Linked DNA regions of Homo sapiens: all the other regions are linked to region 1. The links are contacts of gene promoters, found by promoter capture Hi-C in blood cells and fetal thymus (Javierre and others, 2016). All regions are on one chromosome and are shown on one strand. The core of a region is centred on a gene start or on the middle of the fragment in contact, and the rest is flanking DNA. Distances in the headings are between cores, read along the strand shown. Region 1 holds the start of FILIP1L (filamin A interacting protein 1 like). Region 2 overlaps CMSS1 (cms1 ribosomal small subunit homolog). Region 3 overlaps CMSS1 (cms1 ribosomal small subunit homolog).

Evidence for each region. Contacts are between HindIII fragments. The CHiCAGO score rates a contact against its expected background, and 5 or more counts as called.
Region 2: a fragment that was not itself captured here is called in contact with the fragment with the promoter of FILIP1L in region 1 in 3 of 17 cell types (erythroblasts, naive B cells and megakaryocytes); the score reaches 6.0 in erythroblasts.
Region 3: a fragment that was not itself captured here is called in contact with the fragment with the promoter of FILIP1L in region 1 in 1 of 17 cell types (M1 macrophages); the score reaches 5.0 in M1 macrophages.

The regions. Positions count from the first base shown.
Region 1 is chr3:100,111,908-100,116,306 of GRCh38, forward strand. It overlaps FILIP1L (filamin A interacting protein 1 like), which reads right to left and starts at 2,594. Exons shown (of 6, transcript NM_001387850.1): 1 at 2,146-2,594. All of the region lies in intron 1 of CMSS1 (cms1 ribosomal small subunit homolog), which reads left to right. The HindIII fragment of the contact is 6,115 bases long and covers 630-4,399 here.
Region 2 is chr3:99,888,988-99,893,613 of GRCh38, forward strand. All of the region lies in intron 1 of CMSS1 (cms1 ribosomal small subunit homolog), which reads left to right. The region is part of intron 4 of FILIP1L (filamin A interacting protein 1 like); the gene reads right to left. All of the region lies in intron 1 of LOC105374010 (a long non-coding RNA gene), which reads left to right. Among named protein-coding and RNA genes, the nearest start is that of HP09053, 67 kb to the left of the region's middle. The HindIII fragment of the contact is 5,601 bases long and covers 133-4,626 here.
Region 3 is chr3:99,865,913-99,870,316 of GRCh38, forward strand. All of the region lies in intron 1 of CMSS1 (cms1 ribosomal small subunit homolog), which reads left to right. The region is part of intron 4 of FILIP1L (filamin A interacting protein 1 like); the gene reads right to left. The region is part of intron 1 of LOC105374010 (a long non-coding RNA gene); the gene reads left to right. Among named protein-coding and RNA genes, the nearest start is that of HP09053, 44 kb to the left of the region's middle. RefSeq lists a silencer at 2,233-2,527. The HindIII fragment of the contact is 1,217 bases long and covers 1,194-2,410 here.

The DNA of each region.
Region 1 (4,399 bases), core at 1,344-3,843:
ATGCACAATACACAGATTCAAATCACTAGTAATCAGACTCTCTGTGCAGATTCCTACACTCAGGGCATCTGGAGACCATGTTTGCCTCATTCACTGTTATAATCCCAATAACCAGCACGGGGCCTGGCACAGAGTAGGCATTCTAAAATAGTTGATGAATGAATGAACAAATGAGCAAACAAACTAAGCTATTACTATAAAAGTGTTCCCCTAATATAACTAAACAAACTTACTGTGTATTGCTGGTAGGCACTAGTTCTACTCTAAGGAAAATAAAAGCTACTAGCACTTTTTCTTTAAATGTTTTTTAATGTAACATATTAGAAAGGTGAAGCGGGTATTACATTGGTAATGAAAATTTTGCTTTAGGTTAGAACATAGAATAATATGGACTGTAATCAGAAGAAAAGAAGATAGAGCCCATTACATTTAGGTTTTTTGCATCCTTGGACCTGCCTGACTCTCGGCAAGTTGCAATGGCAGTCTCCTACAATAGCACTCTATTAAAGGCACCATCATTTCAATGGCACAATAAAATATCTTCATTTCCAGTGCCAGCGCCACTACCTAAGACCAAGTCTTGACTAAATTTATTACTTAAATTTATTGCTAATTTATTGCTTAAATAAAGCTTAAGCAAAAAAGACAATTACACATGAACTTTAATAGAAGGTAAACTCTAAAAATAAATTGTCACTCTTTAAATAATGAATGCTTTTCTTTGCTGCAGAACTTTTACAGAGTATCTTTGTATTGGTTAGTATAAGAATCCAAACCCCACATTGCTTTGGGAAATTACTGAGAAAATTCTCATCAGAGTAGTAGACCTTAATTACCCAGGTGGAAAGAGCCCATGAATATTATTGCTGCCTTTAGAAGTTTTTATTAACAAACAGCTCTTACAGTATTTATGCTGATTTTTAATTAAGCATAATGAGAGTTTCATAATAGTGTCAACTGATAAATGTAGAGAAATGTTTACTTGGAATATTTGGCTTTGGGAGATAGCAGATTGATAAATCAGAAAATGTCATCACAGGAAAAACAAGTTTAACTGTAGCTAAAGGAACATTGCTGTAATTGCAATGCATTCTCTCTAGTATTAACTACACCATGTTCTCCTTTATGCATATCTAATACACACGTGGAATATGGTAGTGTAGTTAAACAGTGTATGTGTTGCACCTCTTCTATTCCTTCCTGAGATGTGAACAGATAATGAATAAAGAAAGATATGTAATCATTAATTGGTATGGAAAGAAAAAAGAATAACTGAATATGTCACAACCATTTTAACTGAACACATATCTCTCTTCAGTGGAGCGCCTATATACAAAACTGTGCAGCCACCCTAAACATTGAATAATCCTCCCATTGAGGAGTACAGTGAGCAGAATTTTCTGTGATATCATTTGGCAGCAGCCTAGCATCATTTCCCATTTATATCCAGATGTGATGTGCCCATGGATATCCAGTCATCTTCTGTGGGGTGTTACAGAACAAGTTCTTGATAGGTATCTCCCAAGACCTGCCAAAAACCTTATCTCAGAAACCTGCTTCTGTTCTCTGGCTCTCATTCATTAAATCTTAACATCAACAGAAGGTAAACAAACAAAAGAAAAAAGATACAATATAGTTGCCATTTGAAAATGTTAGTTTCTTCCATTAATCTTTCCATGAAAAGAGAATTCCTCCTCTGCAATTTAACCTATTCAGTATAATTCTCCATTTTCAACACATTGTGATGATTTTGACACTGTATATTGATCATTCACATCAGCTTACAAAATCAAGCTATTAAGAAGGAAAGCCATTTATCCAAACATACTTTTTCTTTAATTTTTGACTATCCATCTTACTCTTAACAGGATAACAATTTAAAGTTTCATTTTGGTTTTCTTTCATGTGTATCACTATAGTAAAACTTACCTACTGTCAGGATAGTTCCTCTATTTTGCAAGCAACTCTTAGTCATTTTAGCCTAAAAGTCATCATCTGTCATAAGCTCTTAATCATACTACGTTCCCTTGCATAATATTCACAAGATCCTACTTTTGGAGAGTGGTGTTGGCCGCTCCTAGCTGGTGAATAACACAGAAACATCCCAAAGCCTCTTCTCAGCAAGGATGGGGACACTTAGCTTACCGTGCAGGTACCGTGCAGGTGTTGATCACACCTGGTAATTCCTTCTTCTCATCCCCACCAAAATCCAACAGTGGAATCCAGGACCAACAACAACGTTTTCTTCTTCTCTTTTTGGACACCCTCTCAGTTTTTGTTTTGTAGGCTTGAAAGCCACCGAGAGTTTGCAACCAGGGGCCAGTGATAGCTCTGCAAAGGAGAGGCAGTGGGGAGCCCAACAACAAGTAGGCCCAAACACTAAATATTGCCCTCTTCCCTCTCCGGGCAGTGTCCTTCATGCTCTGAAGACAGGCAGCCTTACCAAAACTCTTACCCCACAGCTTGCCAGTCTCTGTGGAAGAAAGGTTCTAACTGGACTGGGCTGCAGGATGAGGTGACCCAAAAGCCAGGAACCATCTGCGCAGAGCAGACAAGTAGAGGCAGGCACAGGCTCCGTGAGCACGTCTGTGTGTGTGTGTGTGTGTCTGTGTATGTGTGTTTGCATGCCTGTGCCCAGCAGCTGCTCTCCAGATTAGAAGACACCACTCTTTGGCCAGCAACTCTGAAACACCCTCTTAGGTAATTTTAAATTCATGTGCACATCTTGGCTGAGAGTAGAAACTTCCCAAGCACAACCTGGGTCCCATTCTTTGCTGTGTTGCTACCCCAGATATATTGTGAACCACAGACAGCAGTGCTAGCACCTTAGGAACAGATGCCCAGATGGACATTAAATTGCACCTCATTTTGTACCCTGCAGCCATGAGCTGATGTAAGCCTTGTTTGTGATTTAAGTAACAAGGGCATGACCCCTTCTTTGACACCCATAACCCAAGGCACTGTAAACATTCGCTATTATTAACGCTGTGTTGGACTCAAACTTGAATGCCTGCCTGTTCCATTTAGTGTCACAGGAGACACGAGGGCAAAGTGCTGAGGAAACTCTAGAGCAACATCGGAATGCATGGTGGTATGTTTATTATTATTATTTGACATTTTGTTTTATATTATTCAAGTGTTAAGAAAACCTTCATACTTAGGATTGCTAAAATTTGAAGCATCTAATTTTCTTTAAGTAGGATCACTTGTTCAGATTGAGGGGTTGGATAGAAGGGAGGAGTTTGTTCATTTATTCAACAAATATATATTTCAGCATCCATTATGTATCAGATCACTTACCAGACATGCCTACCACCTGCCCAGTGCTCAAGTCATGCATTATCTAATTTAATCCTCACAGCAGCCCTTTAAATTAGTCCTACTCCTGGTGATCTAATGAGAAAACCAAAGATCAGAATAATTTAATAACTTCCTAGGATCTCACAGATGATAGATATAAGACTGAGGATTCAAAATTGAATCTGAGTTACTCCAAAGCCCATGCTCTTTATTTTTAATTTTTAACATCAAAATAATTTCAGACTTATAGAAAAAATACAGGAATAATAAAGAATTTCCATATGCTCTTCACTAAGGTTCTCCAATGTTTAACATTTTACCACTGGTTGTATTCTCCCTCTCTTTCTCTTTCTCTCTCTCTCTCTCTGTCTCTCTCTCTCTCTCTCTCTCTCTCTCTCTCTCTCTCTCTCTCTCTCTCTCTGTCTCTCTCTCTCATCCTCCTTTCCACCCGTGAGTTTATTTTGGTGTGTGTATATTTTTTTCTGAATTAATTTATATACTTTAGTGTGATTATCTTAAAAATGTAAGTATACTCTTCTACATAACCACAGTATAACAATTAAATTCAGTAAATCAACTTTACTTTCTAATCCATAGATCCCATTCAACTTTTCACCAAATGTCTCAATAATATCCTTTATAGAAAAAAAATGGTTTTTTAGTCCACGATTATGTGTTGCATTTAGTTGCCTTGTCTCTACGTTCCTTCAATCTTGAACAGTTCTGTAATCTTCCTTTTTTATATGTGACCTTCACATTTTTGAAGAGTACGTTTTGTAGAATGTTCCTTAGTTTAGATTTGTGTGATGTTTCCTCATTGTGAGATTGAAATTGTGTATTTTTATGGCAGGAATACTACAGAAACAATGCTGTATTCTTCTTAATCATATCAGGAGTCACATAAACGGAGTTAGTCTTGTAACCAAACCCACTTGCTTAAGGTGGTATCTGTTAGATTTACTGTAAAATTATGGTTTTTCCTTTTGCAGTTAATAAATATTTTGTGGGGAGATACTTGGAGACTAGGTAAACATATTGCTCTTAAATAAACTTTCTTAGAGTGAAGAAGAGCATTCCCTTCTCCTCACTTATTTTTGTG
Region 2 (4,626 bases), core at 1,683-4,182, 220 kb before region 1:
TATGTTATCTATCCTTTGACATTAAGGTTTGTTTCATGGCCTCACTACATGGTTACTTTTTGTTCAGGTTCTCTATCTGCTTGAAGATAATTTATGTTTCATGAAACTTAACAGTTTTCTGTATATAAATAAAGCTTGTTAATTGTGTTGTTAAGATCTTCTGTAACCTTACTGATTTTTATCTGCTTGGTTTATTAATAACTAACAAGGATGTGCTGTACTCTCCCACTGTGATGATGGATTAGTTTGTCCTTGTGTTTCTGGCAATTCTTGCTTTACATATTTTTAGATGCACACAAATTCAAACTGTTCCTAGGAAATGGAATCTCTTCATATTATATAATAACCCTTTATAGATGTTTTTAACTTTAAGTTCATTTTGTTTGATATTAACATAGCTATATAATCTTTCTTTTAATTAGTAGTTACTAATGTCTTTTCTGACCTTTTACTTTCAGCTTTACCATACCCTTATGTTCTGGTGAGTCTCATATAAATAACGTATAGCTAGGAATTATAATTGTTAAAATTGCTTTAATCCAGTTTTACAATTTTTATCTTTTAGCAGGATCATTTTGTCTATGTTTATAGTAATTATTTGCTGTCTTATTTGATAATTCCATTTGTACCACCTTTTTGTTGCTTTTATCTCATTTCTTGGCTTCTTCTGAATTTTATTTTTATCTATTTCCTCTCTCTCTCTACCTTGTAATACATACTGTATTCCTATTCTATTAGGGATTAATGACCCTATAAATTCCATCTCACAAGTTAAATTCTCAAAAGTCTAAAGCTACTCAGTATATTAATCCTCCTCCAAAAAAATCTAAGGACTTCAAAACACTTTTAATTCTGAGCATACCCTCCCAGTTTTTATATTATTGTTATTATATATTTTAGTTCTAACTTTAATTCCATAGGACATTATAATCTATTATTGTTCTATTAGGCAATTATTGGTTTAGATATACCAATATATTTAACACTTTCTTCGCCTCTTATTTCTTCTTTTATTCCAGACTTCTCTCTGGGACCACTTTCCTTCAATCTAAATGCATCCTTTTGAAGTTCCTTTAGTGGAAGTCTGCTCTTTGCACACTGTATTTATTTGAATCTGTCTTTATTTCACCATCGTTCTTGAGGATTTTTACTGGGTATAGAATGCTTGGTTGAGACTTGTTTTCTGTCAGTACATTGAAGATATTATTCCACCAACTTCTGGTTTCCCATTTTACTGTTGAAAAATCATCTATCTAATTGTCATTCCTTTTTTCCCTGGCTGTTTTTATGATCTTCCCTTTGTCTTTGATATTATACTATTTCATTTGTATGTACTTAAATGCAGATTTCTTTTATTTTGTCCTTACCAGGTTTCATTGAGCTTCCTGAGTCTGTAGATTAGTGTCTTTCTTCAGTTCTAGAAAATTCTTAGTTTATATTAACATTTCAAATATGGCTTCTGAACAGTTTTTTCTCTCCTTAATCTCTTATAACCTAGATTAGACACATGTTAGACTTTCTTTATCTTCACATCCCTTAACTACTCTTCAGTTATTCCATCTGTTTGGCTTTCCAGACTATATTCTGTGCAATTTCTTTGAATTTTTCTTCCAGTTTACTAATTCTCATTCCTTGATCTACAGTTGTTACCTATTTCATTTCCCAAAGTTTCTATTTGTTTTTCTAGTTTGACCATTTTCTATAGTCTTTTACTTTTTAAACTAGAAATACCAATCCGCTGTTTTTTTTTTTCTGACATATTAAGTATGTCTTACATGCTGTCTGATTATTTAAATATCTGAGGTCTTTGCAGCTCTGATTCTGCCATTTAATGTCACTGGCTTTCAATAATTGTATATTATTTTCTGTATGCTTTCAGATTTTTTTATATGAAGTCACGTATCTCAGAATTTTATATGTAGGAATTCCTTGAGCCCTGAGTTGAAGGTAGTTTCCTCTAGAGAGGATTTCCATTTGTGCCAAATGCCAAAGGGGTATTTTCAGCCTAAAATCTTTTTAAACTGAATTTTTTGACCTAGGATCTTTGGGATTTTTTTCTTTTGTTTTGTTTTTGTTTTTTTTTCAGACCACCCAGTTAGTATGAATCTGCAAATTCTCGTGTGGGCTAGCTTGTTAGTATACCTTCTCAGTGGAGTTTATTTTCCCTCTAACTCCCAATGCCATAGTTCATGGAAAGCAGTTTTCCTTGCAGTCCTTTAGAGGTTGATTTTGTTTCTAAATTACCCTTTCGTCTGGGTAATGTGGGTACTTCCATCTGGGCATTCTGACAGTTTAGCTCTTTGAAATCTCAGCTTTATGTGGGGCTGGGAGGACCCTGGGCTTTGTACTCTGTCTACATGCCCTATGATGTCATGAAAACTAAAATTTAAGTTTATGGAGTTTAACAAAACATTCTCAAAGCAAAAACCAGCTTTTGTGCTTTGCTTTACCTTTCTAGGTTTTCACTTTTATTCAGTCTTTGGCCTTGAATATTCCTAATATTACTTGCCATCTTATAGATGTATTTTTTGAAATATTGTATATATTTTATTTTGCTTTTTAATATGTGTTGGATTTTTTGGGTTTTTTTTGTTTGTTTTGTTTTGTTGGTGAGACACTAGGTTAGGGTAGCTAATCCATTTCACCATCAGCAATGGACATTAGAACAATAATAATCTCATACCGAAAATCAGCCTGAAAACTATGTCTAAAAGGAAATATTTCAAATTAAGAAATGGAGTTTTAGCTTAACCCAGTACAGATTTACATCACAGCATTTCCATTCATTGCTCAGCTTACTAATAAGCCACCAGTGATTTTTCAGTTGCCTAATTGTATAAACATTGTGTCCAAGATAAGGTCCAACTATTAACAAAACTACACTTTTTAAGTTCTAGTCATTCTTAGGTCTACATATTAATAGAAGAATCAGTCGGCTATCTAGAATAGCTATGATTCACTAACACTTATTAGTTAAATTTATATTAAATACAATATAATAATTTTTCTGATTTTTTCACAGTTGTTACTTCTTAGTTCAGGCAAACACATTAGTCAGAGCCTGATGTAAAGAGGGATGGTCTAAGAGCTTCTGCTATGCTTTTACCAAACCTCTGTGAGAAATAGAATATCACTGGAGTCTCATTCCAGATGCTTCAAAGGGAAACTGTTCTTATGTGAATGATGCCACTTTGAGAACTGCATCTTGAATTAAGAAGTTTTTCATAGTGCACTAGGCAAGTCTCCAATTTTGTATGGAGAACCATGTAATGTGAGGGCTTCACATCTTTGAAGAATTCCCAGGATATGGCAACTTTAAACTATTGACCTTCACTGAGAACTGTCATGAAAATAGTGCCCTGGCTTCTCCAAGTGGTCTAGAATGTGAGTAACCAAAAAATTATACTTTGTCTAGGAAGTGTCCAGCTGTAATCATCCAAAAACCTGAACTCCCATTGGCTCAAACAATAGTGAAATATGTCACCACACAACAAAAAATCCAGCCTTGTGGCAGGTTCTAGACATAGCATGTTGCCTCTGACTCCCTGGTTCTTGTGGCTTTGATCTCTTCCCTTTGATGGCTTCATTGTCACACTGGTAGCAAGATGACCTCAGTAGTTCCAGGCATCTCATCCAAACCTGCAACACCCAGAGGTGGAGAAGGTGCCATCTCTTCTGGTGTCTCTTTAGGAGCCAGTAAGCCTTTCCCATAACTCTCCCCCAATTCCTTACTCCATCTCACCCACCCTCAAAGGCTTGCCCTTATGCCTTATTGTCTGGAACTGCCAAAGGGAAAGAGAATGACATAACTAGCTTATAAATCAATCAGATTTTATCCTTGATCTAAACATAGGTCAAGTTCATGTCGATCATGTGGGCTTAATGGATTATTCTAAGTTATCTTTTACATAAATTCTAAGCGTACTATTGGCCTGTATTTTTCTTCACAAAGAAGATGAGGCCCCTGTTGGTGCTGATCCCCCAAAACAGAGCTGAATTAGAAGTGATCAGGACAGTGACTGGAGGAGGAGTGGCAATGCCTTGCTAAGATGCAAGCATGATGCTCTGTGTGTCTGTTCTCTCAAGTGTTACTGGGAAGAAATCTGGGGATTTTTAGAAGACACCTTTCTGCTTTCAGGTATCTCTATTTCCAGTAACAAAATTGGCATCTAGACTTTTTTTTTTTTTTTTTTTTTGAGATAGAGTCTCACTCTGTTGCCCAGGCTGGAGTGCAGTGGCGCAATCTCGGCTCACTGCAACCTCCGCCTCCCGGGTTCACGCCATTCTCCTGTCTCAGCCTCCTGAGTAGCTGGGACTACAGGCGCCTGCCACCACGCCCGGCTAATTTTTTGTATTTTTAGTGGAGACGGGGTTTCACTGTATTAGCCAGAATGGTCTCGATCTCCTGACCTCGTGATCCGCCTGTCTCGGCCTCCCAAAGTGCTGGGATTACAGGCTTGAGCCACCTCGCCCAGCCGGCATCTAGACATTTTTTAATAGGCATTTAGTAACAGTAACAAATATTATTGTTCATTTTATAGAATTTGAAGTCTTCTCAATCTAAGACTAGATTTTGGTTTTTTAAGGTATGAGGTTTTATGGATCTTTTTACTATCATGTAGGTAT
Region 3 (4,404 bases), core at 552-3,051, 250 kb before region 1:
TTCCAATGTAGCTGTTAAATTTTGTTTTTAACCTCCATTAGTCCCTTTTTTCTCTTCCCAGGTCACAGGTTATTTTCACTTAGATATTGCACGTGGGCATTTTGGAGGATTTAATATGATTCCTTCTCTTAACCTCTACTCTTCGTTGGGCTGCTTTTCTTTCCTTTATTCTCTCCTTTATTCTCTCCTTTGTAGAAAGCATGTATCCTTTTCCAGAACTTATTCTGAGCAAAAAGTTAAAACTTTTTTTAAGCCTGTGTTTTTTTTTTTAAAGGCTTTCCTTTTTTATGTGGCTTTCTTACCTTAATTGTTGTTCAGTTCACCACATTTAATAAAAAGCCAAAGCAGGGGCCAGTCACGTACCAGAATGGATAAGTTCACTGGTTTTCACCTCCTTGTAGTCTGGCTGCCTACACAGAGGCAGTGGCTAAAGTGGTATGCTTGGGAAACCAAACGTTTCCTAACTTGTTAGTGGGAAATTCAAACTTCAGAAATTTAGAAACCACAACAACAGATGCCTATGTTTTACTGTGACTACTGAAGTCACAGTTTGCCATAGAAACAGGATGGATAGCAGCCTGAAGAGTATAAAATGTGAAACATTTTGATCCTTAGAGGACTTTTTTGGGTCCTCGATTTTAGCTGTCATAAATCAGTAAACAAGGAGCAAGGAAAATAGGGAAATTTAATACATTTAAGAGTACTTAGAGGTTCAGGCAGTTAGAGGATGAGGGTTAATGTGTGGCTTGGCTTCCTGCTGAGTAAACAATTAAATCATGAGCCACAGTGAGCATCCTACTTCTACCTTTACCCACTCTTCCTAGTTCCTGAGGATGATTGGTTTATATCTTTTCCATGATTTTTGCAAAGTGAGAGTTTGGGCCATATGCCATCTCTAATTACAGACAGGTGGAAAAGTTTTATTCTGTAATCTGCTGGAACATGAATGACCATTTTTCTTGTGGTCTGTGTTTTGCTTGTCCTCTTGCATGCTTTGTACAAATTAAAATTATTTTGGTTATCTGAGCCTTGTTTAATTTTCCCTTGACTGTAAGTCCAGAGCATTTGGGTTATGTTTTCCTTTTCAGCAACTTCTGAATACTGAGAAGACAGAAAATGCATAAACAGTCTGATCATACTTCCTTTCCTGTAAGTTGGGTTCTTTTAAGATGAACATGTTCTAGAGGATATTAAGCTTGCATAGCAAGGAGTAATTCCATCAAAATATGACAGTGGTCAACAGCATATCTGCTAGAGGTGAGAGCAATGACTGTACCCCACTTCTCTTGGCCCTGGGTCTGCTGCTTATACTGTCCCTGAGCAGGAGTTTCACCCATTTAGTTTATCTATGTGAGAAATGTTCTGTTTGTGGCAGTTAAAGAAATGGCTATAGTATACCTCATGTATGTGCTATTTGAATACCATCCATTTTTGCCCTGACCATATCTTACCTTGTGATTTGAATTTTAAGAGAAGGCAAACTATCTCAGGTTTTAGTAGCTGAAAAAAAGGTTTTTGAAAAAAGCTCTGGCTTCACTATTCATCGCTTTTTAAAGTTTACTAATTCACAGCTAAAAACAAAGAAAGCAGAACCCCAGGTATTAAACAATTGAAAAGCCACATATCTGATGGACAGGAAATGTTGGACCAAAATCTGCTAGTGACTTAACTATCTGACCTTACCTCATCTGCTTGTCACCTTAGCTGCAACATGGGAAGAGCAGTGCAATTTTGTCTCTAAGGTCTACAAAGCCTTTGGCAATCTCAAATCTCAGTTCCACAAAATAAATACTCCCAACAATCTTTAGAGTCCTTTCCTCCCTTCTTTCCTATATAACACTGTATACAAATTCACATGTCAAGAGATTTTATGGCTCATCAAGTCTCAATGGTTCAAAAGAATGGAAAACCGTAATTGGAATTCCATGGGATTCAGATTTATTTGAGTCTGTTGTAGTTCACAAGTTGTAAGTATGCTGTAAAAGCAAATAAGTACTTAAAATGTTATACTAAATTCAAAGTACAATTAAACTGAAAAATTAACACCTAGGCAAAAAGTATTTAGACTGTTAATTTCAAAAGAGACTCTTTATTGTTTGTGGCTAGGATCTGATATAAGCCATTTAGCCCAGGTTGTAAAGATTTGTCTTACAGATTTGTTTTTTGTGGGTGCATGGTAAAACAGGGAGATTCCAAACTAGCTTTTAAGCCTTTTGCAGTCACCAGCTCTCTTCGGTCCTTTACCTGCTCAGGAAGTTGTTTCTTACTTCAGATGAGTAAGACATTTTTAGGAAAGTTCTTGTGGGTTTCTCACAGGAGGGACTGCCTTGTAGCAGGGAAATCAAGGTAAAGGGTAACCTCTCCTTACAGAGTGGCTAAGGTTAGGCACGCTAGAGACAGATCTTCAACAAGCTTAATCCTTTACTCCACTTCACAGCTGGGTGTCTGAGAACAGGAATTCTTCATGACTGCATCCTACAAAGGACCTCCTCTTTGGCCTGAGACAGCCCCCTATATGTCAGCCCAGCAGCACCAGATGATGAAGGAGCATCATCCCTATGGATAGACTAGCATAACCAGAAGAGTAACAGTAGCTGCTATAGGTTTGGCACTGTGCCAACTGCTTCATCACGTTTAAGCTTCAGGTTAAGAAGTGATGTTACTTTAAGCTGCCTTCCTTTCTGCATAAGTCCAGGTTGTTCTGAAGGCCAAATAATGGGTTTTTAAACTTACAGTTTGGGTGCTCTGATCTTGGCACAAGCCTTATTTGTCTTTTAACCTCAGGTTCTCCTTTCATAATAGACTTCTGAAGAATAAGTCTGCCATCTTTTTTGGAATGCTGCATTCAGTCATCTCCATTTACATTTCAGTTCCCATCTTTTCCATGAATGTTTCTTAACTTGTCTAACCCTGGCTGATTTTCCTTTTCTAAGTCCCCACAGCCCTTACAGCTTTATTACCTAAATATTCTACATTATTTTGTACTGCTTTCTAATTTGTTTTAGTATATTACTTTTGCCGTTAAGCCAACTGTAAGCTCCTTAAAGGAATAATACCTCTGTATCCCTCATATGGGTTGAACTCTGTGCATACTTGACCAAATGATAGAGAGGTAAAAAGAACCACTTCCTAGGGGAGTATAACCATCCCTTAGGCTGAGTGGTACCTAAAGTTCTCAGAATGACTTGTTATTAGAATGGAAGAAGGACAAGTAGAGTTTTGTTCCTCTTGTTCTTGTCACTTCTGGAAGGAGAACCATTTAGTGAAGAGAAGAATTCACTTGGAGACAAATTTAATTAAAGTCCAGATGGGGAAAATTGGCCAGAGAATCTTAACTTTGCCTGTGATTCTTTGCATCTGTGTTCAGCCTAATGAATTTTATTGAACTGTAAAAAGAATTTTATGGGGCAGAATTTGGGGGGAGATTAGTGGAGCCCCAAATCACTTGGCAAAGTTACTCTCACTTTTATTTGAAAGCCTCAAGAATAATATGCGACTTCAAACATAATGTATTTATTTTAATAATATGAGTGTTTGAAAAGTAGATAATTTTCCTTTTAGCAGCAGTGGATTCATTTTCACAAAATTCCACAGAGTAATTCACTTCTTCTGCCATTCCCAATTAACAGACTAACAAGTTAAGACTAAGGGACTTCCACAATATCTCACTGAATGGGTGTTTGTCTTCAGCAAGAAACCAGCAACTTTCTCATGTTCTCTCTAGGCTCCTGGACCAGGCAACTCCTTCCTTTTCTTCAAATTTAACAGGCAGACACTTAAGTCTTGCGAGCCCAAATGTGATGTTTTACATTCCACTTATGATCTCTGCTCAGAGATTTGTTTTTGTTTTGATTCACATAAAAAAGCATTTTAAAAAGAAAGAGAAAAACATATTTCACCTTTAAACTTTTGTTCCAGGACTGGTGGGCCATGAGACACAATAAATCTGGCAGATTTGCTTCTGTCAGGGCAGCCCATCTTAGAGGACTGACCTCAGCCTTGAGGCTGCTTTAGATACAGTGATTTGGAGCTCTCACAGGCCCAAGTGCTACAGCTGTGTTCATCTTTTCTCCATTTACATGTGGACTCTTTCCCTCAAATTACCCTCATTTTCTTTAGCTAATTTGTCTCTGTAGTGATATAATCAGTAGCTTTTATTTTTATATTGTCTCTTCTCTACTTGATCAGAGTTCCCATGAGGGTTATTGCTCATTATTCAATCTTTATTGAGTACTGAGAAATACTTGGGGTGGATGACATTGTTCCCTTTTTGTAATTTGTAGAAACCAAGGGAACAGGAGGCTCACCCAGTAAATGGATGGCAGAGCTAAGAAGAGTAGAACTCTGATTTATCCACCCATTATTCTTACTCTTTTAGTCTCACCGTTGAGACACTAACATTTA